Linked DNA regions of Homo sapiens: region 2 is linked to region 1. Evidence: promoter capture Hi-C in human tissues and cell types (Jung and others, 2019). All regions are on one chromosome and are shown on one strand. The core of a region is centred on a gene start or on the middle of the fragment in contact, and the rest is flanking DNA. Distances in the headings are between cores, read along the strand shown.

The links. The method cuts DNA at HindIII sites, captures the fragments that hold promoters and counts their contacts. A contact is called where the count stands out against the background at its distance.
Region 2: a contact is called between a fragment that was not itself captured here and the fragment with the promoter of DMTF1 in region 1, in 1 of the 25 tissues and cell types used here (dorsolateral prefrontal cortex).

What each region holds. Positions count from the first base shown.
Region 1 is chr7:87,149,583-87,156,812 of GRCh38, forward strand. It overlaps DMTF1 (cyclin D binding myb like transcription factor 1), which reads left to right and starts at 2,871. Exons shown (of 18, transcript NM_001142327.2): 1 at 2,871-2,973. DMTF1-AS1 (DMTF1 antisense RNA 1) reads right to left here and starts at 2,911. Exons shown (of 2, transcript NR_136253.1): 1 at 2,720-2,911; 2 at 1,841-2,076. RefSeq lists enhancers at 1,941-2,504, 2,420-2,659, 2,505-3,066 and a silencer at 6,282-6,411. The HindIII fragment of the contact is 5,091 bases long and covers 1-4,913 here.
Region 2 is chr7:85,867,520-85,874,235 of GRCh38, forward strand. No RefSeq gene overlaps it. Among named protein-coding and RNA genes, the nearest start is that of LINC00972, 450 kb to the left of the region's middle. The HindIII fragment of the contact is 8,908 bases long and covers 1-6,388 here.

The sequences.
Region 1 (7,230 bases), core at 1,621-4,120:
GTATCTTTCTCAGAACTTACAAAACATGGCAATTATTGCTTAGTTAACTAATACATTGTCCCTCTCTCTTCCATGCTAGATTATAAAGGAACAGGTCTTTGAGTCTGGGTCTGGATATTATCCTGTTTTAGTGAAGTATCTGAACTGTTTTGTTTTGCACACCAAAATTACAAAGACAGAACAAAAATTTTTATCCTTATTGGCTAGGAGTATTGGACGCCTTAGCTCTCCATTCCCTTGATAAGGAAACACTTTTCTGGCTAATATTCTATCAATAGGTCTCAACAAAGATTTACCACAAAAGAAGAAAAAAGTGAAGTGGATATAGAGAGGTTGTCACCAGGCTGAGGTATTAAAAGGATTGCAGAGATGAGACACATAGGCAAAATGCAAGGCGGGAAAAGGATTGTAAGATGGAGTGTCATAAGGCCCAGAGGGAAGCCTACAGGAAGAATCTGAGACAGGAGACCACCTGGTAAAGCCTGGTGTGTGGGCATAACTGGGACAGTTTATTCATTCCTCCATTAGCACAGCAATCTCCATCAGCTGGAAGGCCCTACAGTGTATACCCATCAGCTATATTAACAGGACTCAGAGCCTGTGTAGAAAGAAAATTACTCAGTAATTGTAATTTTCTTTTACTTTGAACAAAAGCTTATAAACATCTTTTTTTTTTCTGAATTAGCAAAAGATGATCATGAAACAACAGAACCTGCTTCTCAGTATTTGAAATACTTTATATTAATATATCAACCTGTCATAAAAGGCAATTTCATCATCAATCACTGATGAGGTTCACAAAAGTGTTATAGACACCTGGAGTCCAACAAAGTCAATTTTAACTAGCAAATGCAGTAAATACCATAGCTAAGCTATAAATACTTTAATAATTATTGTTTAGGATAGAAATACTTCTAATGATTTTTCTACAAAACATTTAATTCCTAAATAGGTAAATCCTTGGATAATATTTAAAACCTCATCCATTCCCTAGGTACACATTGACTAAATAATGAGGTACGGATAACATAGAAGTATAACTGCAGAAAATTGCTCTAGGAATCAAGTTGTGTTATGGATAGTCTTTACATTGATTATTCAAGCTAAAGGGATAGAGACGTTATTATATTTTTTTAAATTATGCATTAAGCTAATATTAAAATACATTTGTCATCCCCAAATAAATACCAATTGACTTGGGAAAAGGTAGTTATAAAAGAAACTCAACCAGAAAGGGAGAATTTAGTTATGAGGATGCACTTGACTTTTTGCGGGGAGTTAGCAGCGTGCAGGCTGACCTAAAATTTAGCAGAGGAGAATGGATAGCCCGACTATAATTTATATATCACTATTTTGTGCCTTAGCAAAAATAATCCTATATGGTTATGTCTTATGAAAAATATGGCTCATTAGGAACCACCTTATCAATGTTAATGTCAACAATTTTGCATATGTAATTATTATTTTATTAGAACTGCTCTTTGAGTAGTTGTATTGCTTTCCTGGCTTTAAGGTTTATTAGTTACCATTTTTAATGCTTAATACACGTCAGATTCCATGCAAACTACGCTGTCTACAATATTCTGGAAGGTACATCTTATTACTCCTAAAGTAAACAAAGCTAAAAGAGGTGAAGTGCCATATCCACTACTAAGAAATGGAGCCAAGATTCACACTCAGGTCTGACTGCCTGAGTCCATACCACGATACTATTCTGCCTCATAGTTTTGCTTACATAAACATTATTATGTACTTATTAAAAAATGGAATGATACACGGCTTAACTCCAACAGAATGCAGAGTGCCACAAATTAGTAATAAAGTTATCAACACAAGAAAATGCTGCTTCTGAGATTTATTTTTGAAAATTAGTCAAACATGTCGATCCTCCAGTAAAGCAAAGCATTTGTAAACTGGTTGTAATCATTTGTTTTCGTTATGAAAGTACTGCCAAAGTGTATTTTGTGAACTGCAACCGGGTAGTTCAGAACACAGGCTTTGGAGCTGAGGCTTCAATTCTAATTCCACCGCCAACTTGGGAGCCCTTGGACACATTCCTTCACTTCTCTTTGGTTCCTGTGTAAAATGGGATTCATTTGTAATAATTGTAGCGATGCACTTAGAACTTATGAACATTAAATGAGTTTAATATACGTAAAACATTTACCTGTCACATACGCACTCAAAGAATGCTGGCTCACATTACAGAACCCAAAGGCTTATTTATCCTTTTCGTTTATAAGGGTATTAAAACGCGTTTTCTATTTAGGATGGGTTTATACGGCTGCAACCCAAGGAGCATCTGTACTTTTAAGAGGAACTGGGCACAGCAAAACAGCATCTTCCTAGTCTAACAGTGAGACTACATTCACAGAGGACACATTTCATCAAGAACGACTTAACACGCCCAGATATCTCATATTATGCCCCTGCGGTAAGGCAAATCAAGTATGAAGACACACACTCCCTGTTTTCTTCAGCACTGAGATCACTGGTTCCCTCCGTTCCACACCGCGGCTCCCTCGGCTCGGAGCCACAGGGAACTATGAAAATCGGCACGCGAGGCCTAAGTGTCCCCAGAACCAGAGGAACCACAGTTGCGTCATAGCAGAAGGACCTCTTTTACAGCATCAGCAGTGGGATAGTCAGTGCCGAGTTTTCCTGGCAGGACAGCCGACAACCACCGCCACAGACCAGTACAAACATTCCAACCCAGGACCTTTTTTCGCGCGCCGACACAGCCGGAAGTGACGCGTACAGCCAGCACGCTGGGCCGCCAGCGGGACAGACGAGCGGGAGGGGCAGCGTGCGGGGAGCTGGGGGCGGGGCGCGGCCGCAGCTCCGTTTCCGGTGGCTCGTCGCGCTCGCTCACTCCAGCTGCAGCCACTCTCGCCCGTGGCTGCTTCCTCCATCCTGGTATTTTTTGGAGCTTCCATCCTGGTTCTTCCAAAGTGCCCGGACCCAAAACAGGAAGTAAGTGCGATGGAACCTTCAGGTTCCAACCGCCGCCAGGGCCGCTCCGCCCAGTGGAGCCTGTCCGGCCCCCTTGCTGCCCGCTAGCTCCCGCCGGCTGGCGCAAGCTGTCGGCGCCGGGGCACTGCGGGCGGGGTCGGAGCCTGGCCTTCCTGACGTTGCAGCTGCCGTCCCCGCACGTTCCGGCCAGGGCCTCCCTCTTAGGGCCGGGCGGTGCCCGTGGCTCAGGCTGCAGAGTAGGGAAGCGAGCGGCTGCCGAGGCACAGCGGCGATCCGGCGGGGGCGGAAAATGGCGGCGGCTTCGGAGGAGCTAAATGGCGCCGGGACCCCTGGGGGGTGGGGTGGGCCGGGAGGTTGAGTAGAGAACTGGGCCAGAAGGAGTGGAGACAGTAAGGAAGCCCTACTTGTTTTCTCGTGGTGTTCTATTTTTAGTTTTTATTTTTGTTACGTTTTCGGTTTTGTTTTATGGTCCAGCGTAGGAGAGGTAGGCTTGGGTGGGGTCGAGAGAGTGGGGGTGGGTCTCGACCCAACTTCCCCCCCTTTGCTTTTTTGTTCTTTTCCCTCGTTTGCGCTTTAGATTCTTCTGTAATTTTGCGGGGGTTCAGCCTTGCTCGGCGATTCACGGCCCAGACATAGAGAATCGGGATAGCTGGCCGAACCGTCTCTCTCAGTCTGACTCTCTTTAAAGAAGGGATGTGGGCTGGGGCGCGGGGACAGTCCTGGTGGAGCACGGAAAATGCGGCTGTAAAGTTGTAATTACCCTATTGTGCCGAGTTCCGAGAAAGTTCTTAAAATTGTTAAGTCCACTTTGTTCTCTAAAATGTACTTCGCTTTGAGAATTTCTTCAGGGAGGTATGTAGAATGTTTTACCACAATCTCCAGAGCAGATTTGAGAGTAGAAGTGGCCAAGTGCCCTTTTGTGCAATTGAATGATAGAGCATATGTCTTTATATAAAATACTCGGTGTAGATAAGGAAAAGGATAATAGTATACAGTATGAGTCAGGACTCCTCCCTTTCTCTCATTGAATTTGTGTAGTTGCTTTTTTCGCAACTCATTCATCTTTGTGTACCTCTTTTTAATGTACATGGATTTGATTATGTGTGCCTCCTTTCTGACAGTCGAGGCTGCATGTTGGGACGTCCTACAAAATGCATATTCTGTGGAATTATTTTTTAATATGACATGTCTTAAGCTTAAAGTGACGCCATTTGGAAAATTTTAAATTATACCTGTATTTTTAATTCGTGGGAGAAAACCATTTGTAGCTTTTAAGCTCCAAATACGAAAATATTCTTCCACTATGTTGAAAGTATTGCAAAATCTGTTTTTTTCAGTTAAGGGTTTTCATGTTTTTTCATTACTTCAAATTTCTTTAAGCTGGTTTTGAAATTATATTTCAAATAGCTTTCTGAGGATTACTGTCTTTTAATAACTTGAATAATTTGCCATCACTTTAACATTTAAAGAATGACTATGGCGATACACCAAAATCTTATCTTTTTGCTCTTATGGTGTACTTAGAGACAGGATTTCATGTATTTGGTTAGGATTTAGAAATTCTGTTAAGATTTAGAGAAAAAAGGTTAAAGCTACATTCCTTAACGTTACAAAAATTGTCATGCTGAGAGAATCCAATTTGGTGTGAGAATAATTTTTTTCTTCCATACAGAAAGCACAAAAACCAGCCTGATTGTATCTGGAAAAAACCATTATGTTACAGGTGTGAAAAATACATTTCATGATTGTGGTGATTTTTATCTCATTTTAACTCTCGATACTAGGTGCTTCTGTATGCCACCAAACAAGCTAATTTTTTTTCTTACTATTTTAGTTGATAGGCTCACCCCAAAATATGCTTTTGGGGACTGATTTAGCACCTGCATATTCTGCGTGAATCTCTTTAATTGGTTGCAGTTGAGCTAATGGTGGAGCCAAAATGCTATTGCCCTGTCTTCATCAACATTTAATCAGTAAGTACTGGGCATTGCATCTTTCTTAGAACTTTAAGTTCATACGTTGCAGTTATATGAATACATTATTTTATGTAAACATTTTTCTGAGTGTTCAGGTTTTAGAAGTATTTTGAGGGGAAGAAATCAAAGTTTGGGCGTTATGACTTGAGCTTTGAAAACAGCATGGTTGGGAAATGTTTACTGGTGGAGACTCATATCAAAAGTAGATAGCTGTCCTCTAGTCCTTTTTTTAGAGATCTCTTTTTTCAATCCTTTAGTTATCTCATTACACCCCAGGGGTGCTTTAAAGGTGGGGAGATAGTGTATGTATTTTATAAGGTTAGTTTGATATCACTGGTTAGTATTTAAATAACAACAAAAAACTTGCCTTTACCTCCTCCGCAAAAAATCTTACCTTTCTATTAGCCTCATTTATCTCTCCAAAATCTACAGACTCTAATTTTTATTAATGGTGTAATAAACTTACATGTCCTGAAAATAACATCTCATTATTTTAAACAGTTGCCTTTGCCATGCTTCATTAAGTGCATTGGCTTAAATTAACACCTGTGAGGATGAATGGGATAATGTGAAACAAGTATTCCTAAGGATTTACTGCCTGGCACATAGATGTTAAAATATTGAGGGAGCTTAGAAGTGTTTTTGAAAGTATTGACGTCTTGCATCACTTGTATTAAACACACATCTGTCTGTTGCAAAGACATCAAAAGCTTAGAAAGGAACAAAGTTTAAGGAGGGTTCATTCTACTTTTTTTTATATCTTATGTAGAGACTGCATATTTAACACTGAGGTGGTGTTCTGCCTTTCCAAAATGGAGTTTTCCATTTTAATAGTCCATTTTTTTTCTTACCACCATCATATTTTTCCTATATGAAAGGATTTCCTAGGAATTGATATACTTTTAAATGCTTTGCAATTGCAGCTCCTTTATGTCTCCAAATGATACAAGAAGACCCGAGAAAGTGGTAAACTAAATGATTTTTATTAAAGTAATTGCCAAATATTAAAGATAAAATATGGATAGTTACCAAATGTATGTGGCGTTTGTTTACTTTCATGTCATTTCTCCGTTTATCTTGATGGTGCTTTCATTTTGTGAAGAAAATTCCTGTAATAGAAATCACAAATAGATTTTGTGTTTGCTTTGATTCTATAAAGGTAGATAAGTTTAAATAAAAGGAGGAACGTGGTTGTGTCTCCCCCACCCCACCCCCGCCCCACCCAAGTTTGTAGAAAGATAATCCATTCCATGACTGAGTACTAGAAATAAGTTGTCAGAGAAAAGCACACTGGAGAGCTCATTATGAACAGTTTAATTTTCTATCATTTCATATATTTAAATGTCATTTTGATTATGTACACTGTTAGGTCATTCTTCCAAGCACCAGTGGTCAAAGCTGATTCATTCACTTCCCATCAGGTGTTACGTATCAGAAATGCTCATTAGGTTTATTTTAGTGCCGGTGTATATTTTAGTATCTAATGAGTAAATGTGCTTTAAAAATTAACTTCACTGTAAATCACAGGTGTCTGGTGATACTGTATATGTCCATGTAAAGAGCCTCTGATGGTGCCTTGTAGAAAAGTACTCAGTTTTGAAAGGATGAAATCTTTCAAGTGTGGCGAATAACACATTGTAAGCTCCTGAACCATGCATGAAGTGAAAAATAACATTTTTGCTTTTTGAATAAGCAATATAGTTTTATTGTCAAACCAGATATGAAATGCTGCACCTTAAAATCCTTGCTATTAAGTAATCCTCCTTACTCAAGTAATAGTGACATTGTTTTCAATAGTTGGTAATTGAAATCAACAAAGCCTGCTAGAATAGACTCCACTAACAGCTCTGTTGACATTTTTATGATATATAATCATATTTTACCATCTTAAAACCAAGCCATAGTAAACATTAATTAGGTACCTTAATTGAATATGCCTTATGTTCATTTATGGCTCTGCTGCTCAAACTTTTCCACAAAGTATATAGAGGAACAAATCCCACGGGGCCTGGCACCATAGTCCAAAACATTCTTCTTCAAGTGTGTAGTGTTCCTATTCGTATCTTGAATAAAGTTTGTGCTTATGAAGATGTTATGCTTATTCTATGACCTTACCTCTTGTCTGACAGCCCTCTGTGTACCCATGTTTAGGATGTATGAATTTGTTACCTATTATCTTCCACTAAGATTTTCTACTAAGCAGACTTTCATTATTTCAAAATAAACATATCTTAAAATTTATCTTCCAAATTCCTTAGACGTTACTAAGCAAATTCTCTTT
Region 2 (6,716 bases), core at 685-3,184, 1.3 Mb before region 1:
TGCCTCTTGTACTCCTAATGATTGTAACACATCTCCAGCAAGGGCACAGAACTGGGCTGAGAGTGAGATGGATAAACCGACAGAAAGAGGCTTCAGAAGGTGGGTAATAACGAATTTCACTGTGCTAAAGGACTATCTTCTAACCCAATGCAGAAAAGCTAAGAAACATAATAAAACATTACAAGAGCTGTTAACCAGAATAACCAGTTTAGAGAGGAATATAAATAACCCGAAGGAGCTAAAAAACACAACAGGATAGCTTAACAATGCAACCACAAGTATCAATAGTCAAATAGATCAAGAGGAGAAAAGAATCTCAGAGCTTGAAGACTATCTTGCTGAAATAAGACATGAAGGCAAATTAGAGAAAAACATAATAAAAAGGAATGAACAAAACATCCAAGATCTATGGGATTTTGTAAGAACACTGAACCTATGATTGATTGGGGTACCTGAAAGAGACAGGGAGAACAGAACCAAGTTGGAAAACATACTTCAGGACATCCAAGAGAATTTCTCCAACCTAGCAAGACAGGCTAACATTCAAATTTAGGGAATCCAGAGAACACCAGTAAAATACTCCATGAGAAGATAACCCCCACAAACATAATCATCAGATTCTCCAAGGTCAAAATGCAAGAAAAAATGCTAAGGGCAACCAGAGAGAGAGGTCACGTCACCCACAAAGTAAAACCCATCAGACTAACATCAGATCACTCAGTGGAAACCCTATAAGCCAGAAGATATTGACGGTCAATATTCAATATTATTAAAGAAAATAATTTCCAACCAAGAATTTCAGATCTGGCGAAACTATGTGTGAAACATTAGCGAAGGAGAAATAAAATCCTTTTCAGACAAGCAAATGCTGTGGGAGTTTATCACCACAAAGCCTGCCTTGCAAGAGCTCCTGAAAGAAGCACTAAATATGGAAAGGAAAAACCATTACTAGCCACTACAAAAACACACTGAAGTACACAGACCAACAACACTATGAAGCAACTACATTAACAAGTCTGCAAAACAACCAGTTTACATCATGATGATAGGATCAAATTAACACATAACAATATTAACCTTAAATGTAAATGGGCTAAATGCCCCAATTAAAAGACACAGACGGGCAAGCTGGATAGAGTCAAACTCATTGGTGTGCTGTATTCAAAAACCAATTTCATGTGCACACATAGGTTCAAAAAAAAGATGAAGGAAAGTTTACCAAGCAAATGGAAAGCAGAAAAAAAGCAGAGGTTGAAATCCTAGTTTCTTACAAAACAGACTTTAAACCAACAAAGATCAAAAAAAAGACAAAGAAGGGCACTACATAAGGATAAAAGGTTTAATTCATCAAGAAGAGCTAACTATCCTAGATATATATGCATCCAATACAGGAGTACCCAGATTCATAAAACAAATTCTTAGAGTCCTACAAAGAGACTTGGACTCTCACACAATAATAGTGAAAGACTTTATCACTCCACTGTCAATATTAGACAGATCATCAAGGCGGATAATTAGCAAAGATATTCAGAACTTGAATTCAGCTTTGGATCAAGTGGACGTGACAGATATCTACAGAACTCTCTAACGAAAAACAACAAAATATACATTTTTCTTGCCACCACATGGCACTTACTCTAAAATTGATCACATAACTGGAAGTAAAACACTCCTCAGCAAATTCGAAAGAACTGAAATCATAACAGTCTCTCAGACCACAGTGTAATCAAATTAGAACTCAAGATTAAGAAACTCACTCAAAACTACACAACTACATATAAATTGAACATCATGCTCCTGAATGACTCCTGGGTAAATAACAAAATTAAGACAGAAATCAAGAAGTTATTTGAAACTAGTGAGAACAAAGAGACAAAGTATCAGAACCTCTGGGATGCAGCTAAAGCAGTGTTAAGAGGGAAATTTATAGCACTAAATGCCCACATCAAAAAGCTAGAAAGACGTTAAATCTACATTCTAACATCACAACTTAAAGAACTAGAGAACTAAGAGCAAACAAACCTCAAGGGTAACAGAAGACAAGAAAGAACCAAGATGTGAGTGGAACTGAAGGAGATGGAGACACTAAAACACTTCAAAAAAATCAATGAATCCGTTTTTATGAAAAAATTAATAAAATAGACCATTAGCTAGACTATTAAAGAAGAAAAGAGAGAAGAATCAAATGGATACAATAAAAAATAATAAAGACCATATCACCACTAACCCCACAGAATTAGAAACAACCATCAGAGAATAATATAAACACCTCTATGCAAATAGAGTAGAAAATCTAGAAGAAATGGATAAATTCCTGGACAGGTACACTCTTCCAAGATTGAACCAGGAAGAACCTGAATCCCTGAATAGACAAGTAACAAGTACTGAAATTGTGGTAGTAATAAATAGCCTACCAACCAAAAAAAACAAAAACAAAAACACAGGACCAGATAAATTTAGAGCTGAATTCTACTGAATATACAAAGAAGAGCTTGTACCATTTTTTTCTGAAATTATTCCAAACAATTGAAAAGGGGGGACTCCTCCCTAACTCATTCTATGAGGTCAGCATCATCCTAATACCAAAACTTGGCAGAGATAAGAGAAAAAAAAAACAAAAACTTTAGGCCAATATCCCTGATGAACATAAATGCAAAATTCCTCAATAAAATACTGGCAAGCCAAATCCAGCAGCACATCAGAAAGCTTATACACCACAGTCAAGTAATCTTAATCCCCAGGATGCAAGGCTTGTTCAACATATTCAAATCAATAAATGTAATTCATCACATAAACAAAATTAAACACAAAAACCACACATGATTATCTCGATAGACGCAGAAAAGCCTTTAGATAAAATTCCACATTCGTTCATGTTAAAAACTCTCAATAAAGTAGGTACTAAAGGAACATACCTCAAAATAATTAGAGCCATTTATGATAAATTCACAGCCAATATCATACTAAATGGGTAAAAGCTGGAATTACTCCCCATAAAAACTGGCACAAGACAAGAATGCTCTCCCACCACTCCTATTCAACATAGTATTTGAAGTTCTGGCCAAGGCAATCAGCCAAGAGAAAGAAATAAAGGGTATTCAAATAGGAAGAGAGGAAGTCAAATTTTCCCTCTTTGCAAATGACATGAACCTATTTCTAGAAAACTCCATCAACTCAGCACAATAGCTTCCTAAGCTGATAAGCAACTTCAGCAAAATCTCAGGATACAAAATCAATGTTCAAAAATCACAAGCATCCCTATAAACCAACAACTGACAAGCACAGAGCCAAATAATGAGTGAACTCTTATTCACAATTGCTTAAAATATGTAAAATAAAATAGCTAGGAATACAGCTAACAGGGGAAGTGAAGGACCTCTTCACAGAGAACTATAAACCACTGCTCAAGGAAATGAGACATGACACAAACAAATGGAAAAACATTCCTTGCTCAAGGATAGGAAGAATCAATATCATGAAAATGGCCATACCGCTCAAAGTAATTTATAAATTTAATGCTATTCTCATTAAACTACCATTGACATTCTTCACATAATAAGAAAATTAAATCTATTTTTAGATTCAGAGTGAAGCAAAGAAGAGCCCATATTCCCAAGAGAATCTTAAGCAAAAAAACAAAGCTGAAAGCATCACACTACCTAATTTCTAACTATACTACAATGCTACAGTAACCAAACAGCACGGCACTGGTAGAAAAATAGACACATAGACAAATGTGACAGAATAGGGAACTCAGAAGTAATTCTGCACATCTACAACCATCTGATCCTTGACAAACCTGACAAAAATAAGCAATGGGGAAAGATTCCCTATTTAATAAATGGTGCTGGGAGAACTTGTTAGCCATATGCAGAAAATTGAAACTCGACCTGTTTTTTACACATTATATGAAAAATAACTCAAGATAAATTAAAGACTCAAATGTGAAACCTAAAACTATAAAAGCTGTAGAAGAAAATCTAGGCAATACCATTCAGGACATAGGCATGGGCAAAGATTTCATGATTAAAACATCAAAAGCGATTTCAACAAAAGCAAAAGTTAACAAATGAGATCTACTTAAACTAAGGAGCTTCAGCACATCAAATGAAACTACCATCAGAGGGAACAGACAACCTCCAGAATAGGAGAAAATTTTTGCAATCTATCCATCAGACAAAAGTTTAATATCCAGAATCTACAAGGAACCTTAACAAATTTACAAGAAAAAAGTAACCCCATTAAAAAGTGGGCAAAGCCATGAACAGATATTTCTCAAAAGAAGACATCTGTGCAGCTAACAAAGAAATGAAAACAAGCTCAACATCACTGGTCATTAGAGAAATGCAAATCAAAACCACAATGCGATACCATATCACACCGGTCAGAATGATGATTATTAAAAAAAAAAAAAACAAGAAACAACAGGTGCTGGAGAGGCTGTGGAGAAATAAGAACGATTTTACACTGTGGTGAGAATGTGAATTAGTTCAACCATTGTGAAAGACAGTGTGGTGATTCCTCAAATACCTAGAACCAGAAATACCATTTGACCAAGCAATCCCATTACTGGGTATATACCCAAAGGAATATAAATGATTCTATTATAAAGATATGTGCACATGTATATTAATTGCAGTACTATTCACAATAGCAAAGACATGGTATCAACCCAAATGCCCATCAGTGATAGACTGTATTAAGAAAATGTGGCACATATACACCATGGAATACTATGCAGCCATAAAAAGGAATGAGATCATGTCCTTTGCAGGGACATGGATGGAGCTGGAAGCTACTATACACAGCAAACTAATGCAGGAACAGAAAACCAAACAATGCATGTTCTCACTTATAAATGGGAGGTGAACAATGAGGACACATAGACATATGGAGGAGAACAACACACACTGGGGATTGTCGGGGGTATGGGAAAAAGGAGGGAGGGCATCAGGAAAAATAGCTAATGTATGCAGGGCATAAAACCCAGGATAGGTGCAGCAAATCACCATGGTACCCATTTACCTATGTAACAAACCTGCACATTCTGCACATGTGTCCTGGAACTTAAAATAAAATAAAAAGTTAAAAGAAATAGTAAAAGTCTTAGAATATTAAAATAAATAAAAAAAGAGAAATATGAAATGGAAGTATTTTTTATAATAGAAAATATAGGATAAAATGCAATCAATACATATATAAGAGGATAGATAAATGATAGATATGATAATAATTCTAATACAATAATTAGATGATTTGAAGATACTAGAATATTTTAAGTAATCAGAATAAACCTAATATTTTGATAAGGTTAGTAATTAGATAAACATTGCTGAACTTTTCAAATGAGAAATAAGGAGAACAAAAAAATTAGTTGTGAGGAAAGAATAACCACAGATACTGAAAATATTTAAAAAGCAATATGGGATTATTATAGGAAATTATATGGCAACACATTTGAAAACCCCCCAAAGTGGACAGTTGTTCAACAAAATATATATTACTAAAACTGGCACACAAATTAAGAAGAAATATGAATAAAATAATCTGAAAAGGTCTTAGAAGCATGATTACAGAAGTATCATATAAAATAAACATAATAAAATCAACTTGCCACCGTATCTTTAAGGTTTAAATAAATTTATTACATTAACAATTTGCAAAAACATATAGGTGTAGTCAGAAACTCCCCAATAATATCAGTTGCATTTTCTTTTTCTCTTACTTTAATGGTGTTGTACAAGATGGACTATCTTTTTCTGTGCTAGAGTTTTTGGCTACTTTTAATTGGCTGTTTTTAACTCATCCAGCTAAACTTTCTAAATTTACCTTCTAGGTAGTTTAGCTGCATAAGCAGCTTTCTACTCATTTCTCTCTACTTGCAATTTTTCTGCTAAGAGTGACGTTTGATAATGAGATGACATTAAGGCCCAGAAGAAGAGGAAGAGGAAATAATATTTTGCTTTTGCCACACTTGTAAAATAGTGTCATTAAGGAAAGTTTAGAACTACACATTTTTTGGTTAGTAAATATACTGCATCCCAAGTTAAGTGTAAAAAATGACAGTAAATTTGAATTATGTTACTTGTTTCTTAATCATTATGTCAATAAATATTCTTAAGAACCTCTTTTGTGACATGCACTGTGATTGTTAGGGAAACATATGAGAACAAGCCAGATCCACTTCCTGTTTTGTGGGGTTTGCATATGTACATGTATTGGTAGTATCTGGCCTTAAAGGATTACAGATAGGCCTTAAAATATTTGGCCCAAATGTGTACTTCCAAATCACCTTCCACTGATATATAAAAAAAATAAAATTTCGTCTTTCATTTTCACATGGTCAAAGTGCTTTACAATTTGTCTAGATTTTATATATTTTTGGGGTGATTTGTAGGATATATTTTATGTACACTTACATTGCCATCACACTCATTCAGTCTTTATTTTATTTTTATATAGGAACACAGTGATGCACATTTTGCTTAATTTAATCCATACATCCTTAGAACTACAATAAAAAGTCCCACAAAATTAAGGGGACACTTGATAAATTAATTCTAAATTGTTTATGGAAGAACAAATGGTCCAGAAGAGTTTCCGCATGTTTTAAGAACAATAACAGCAGAGGACTTGAAAAATTTATTATCTTTTTGCTATTAGTATACTGAAAAATAGATTAGAATGAAAAGACAAGTTAATTAATGGAGTGAATG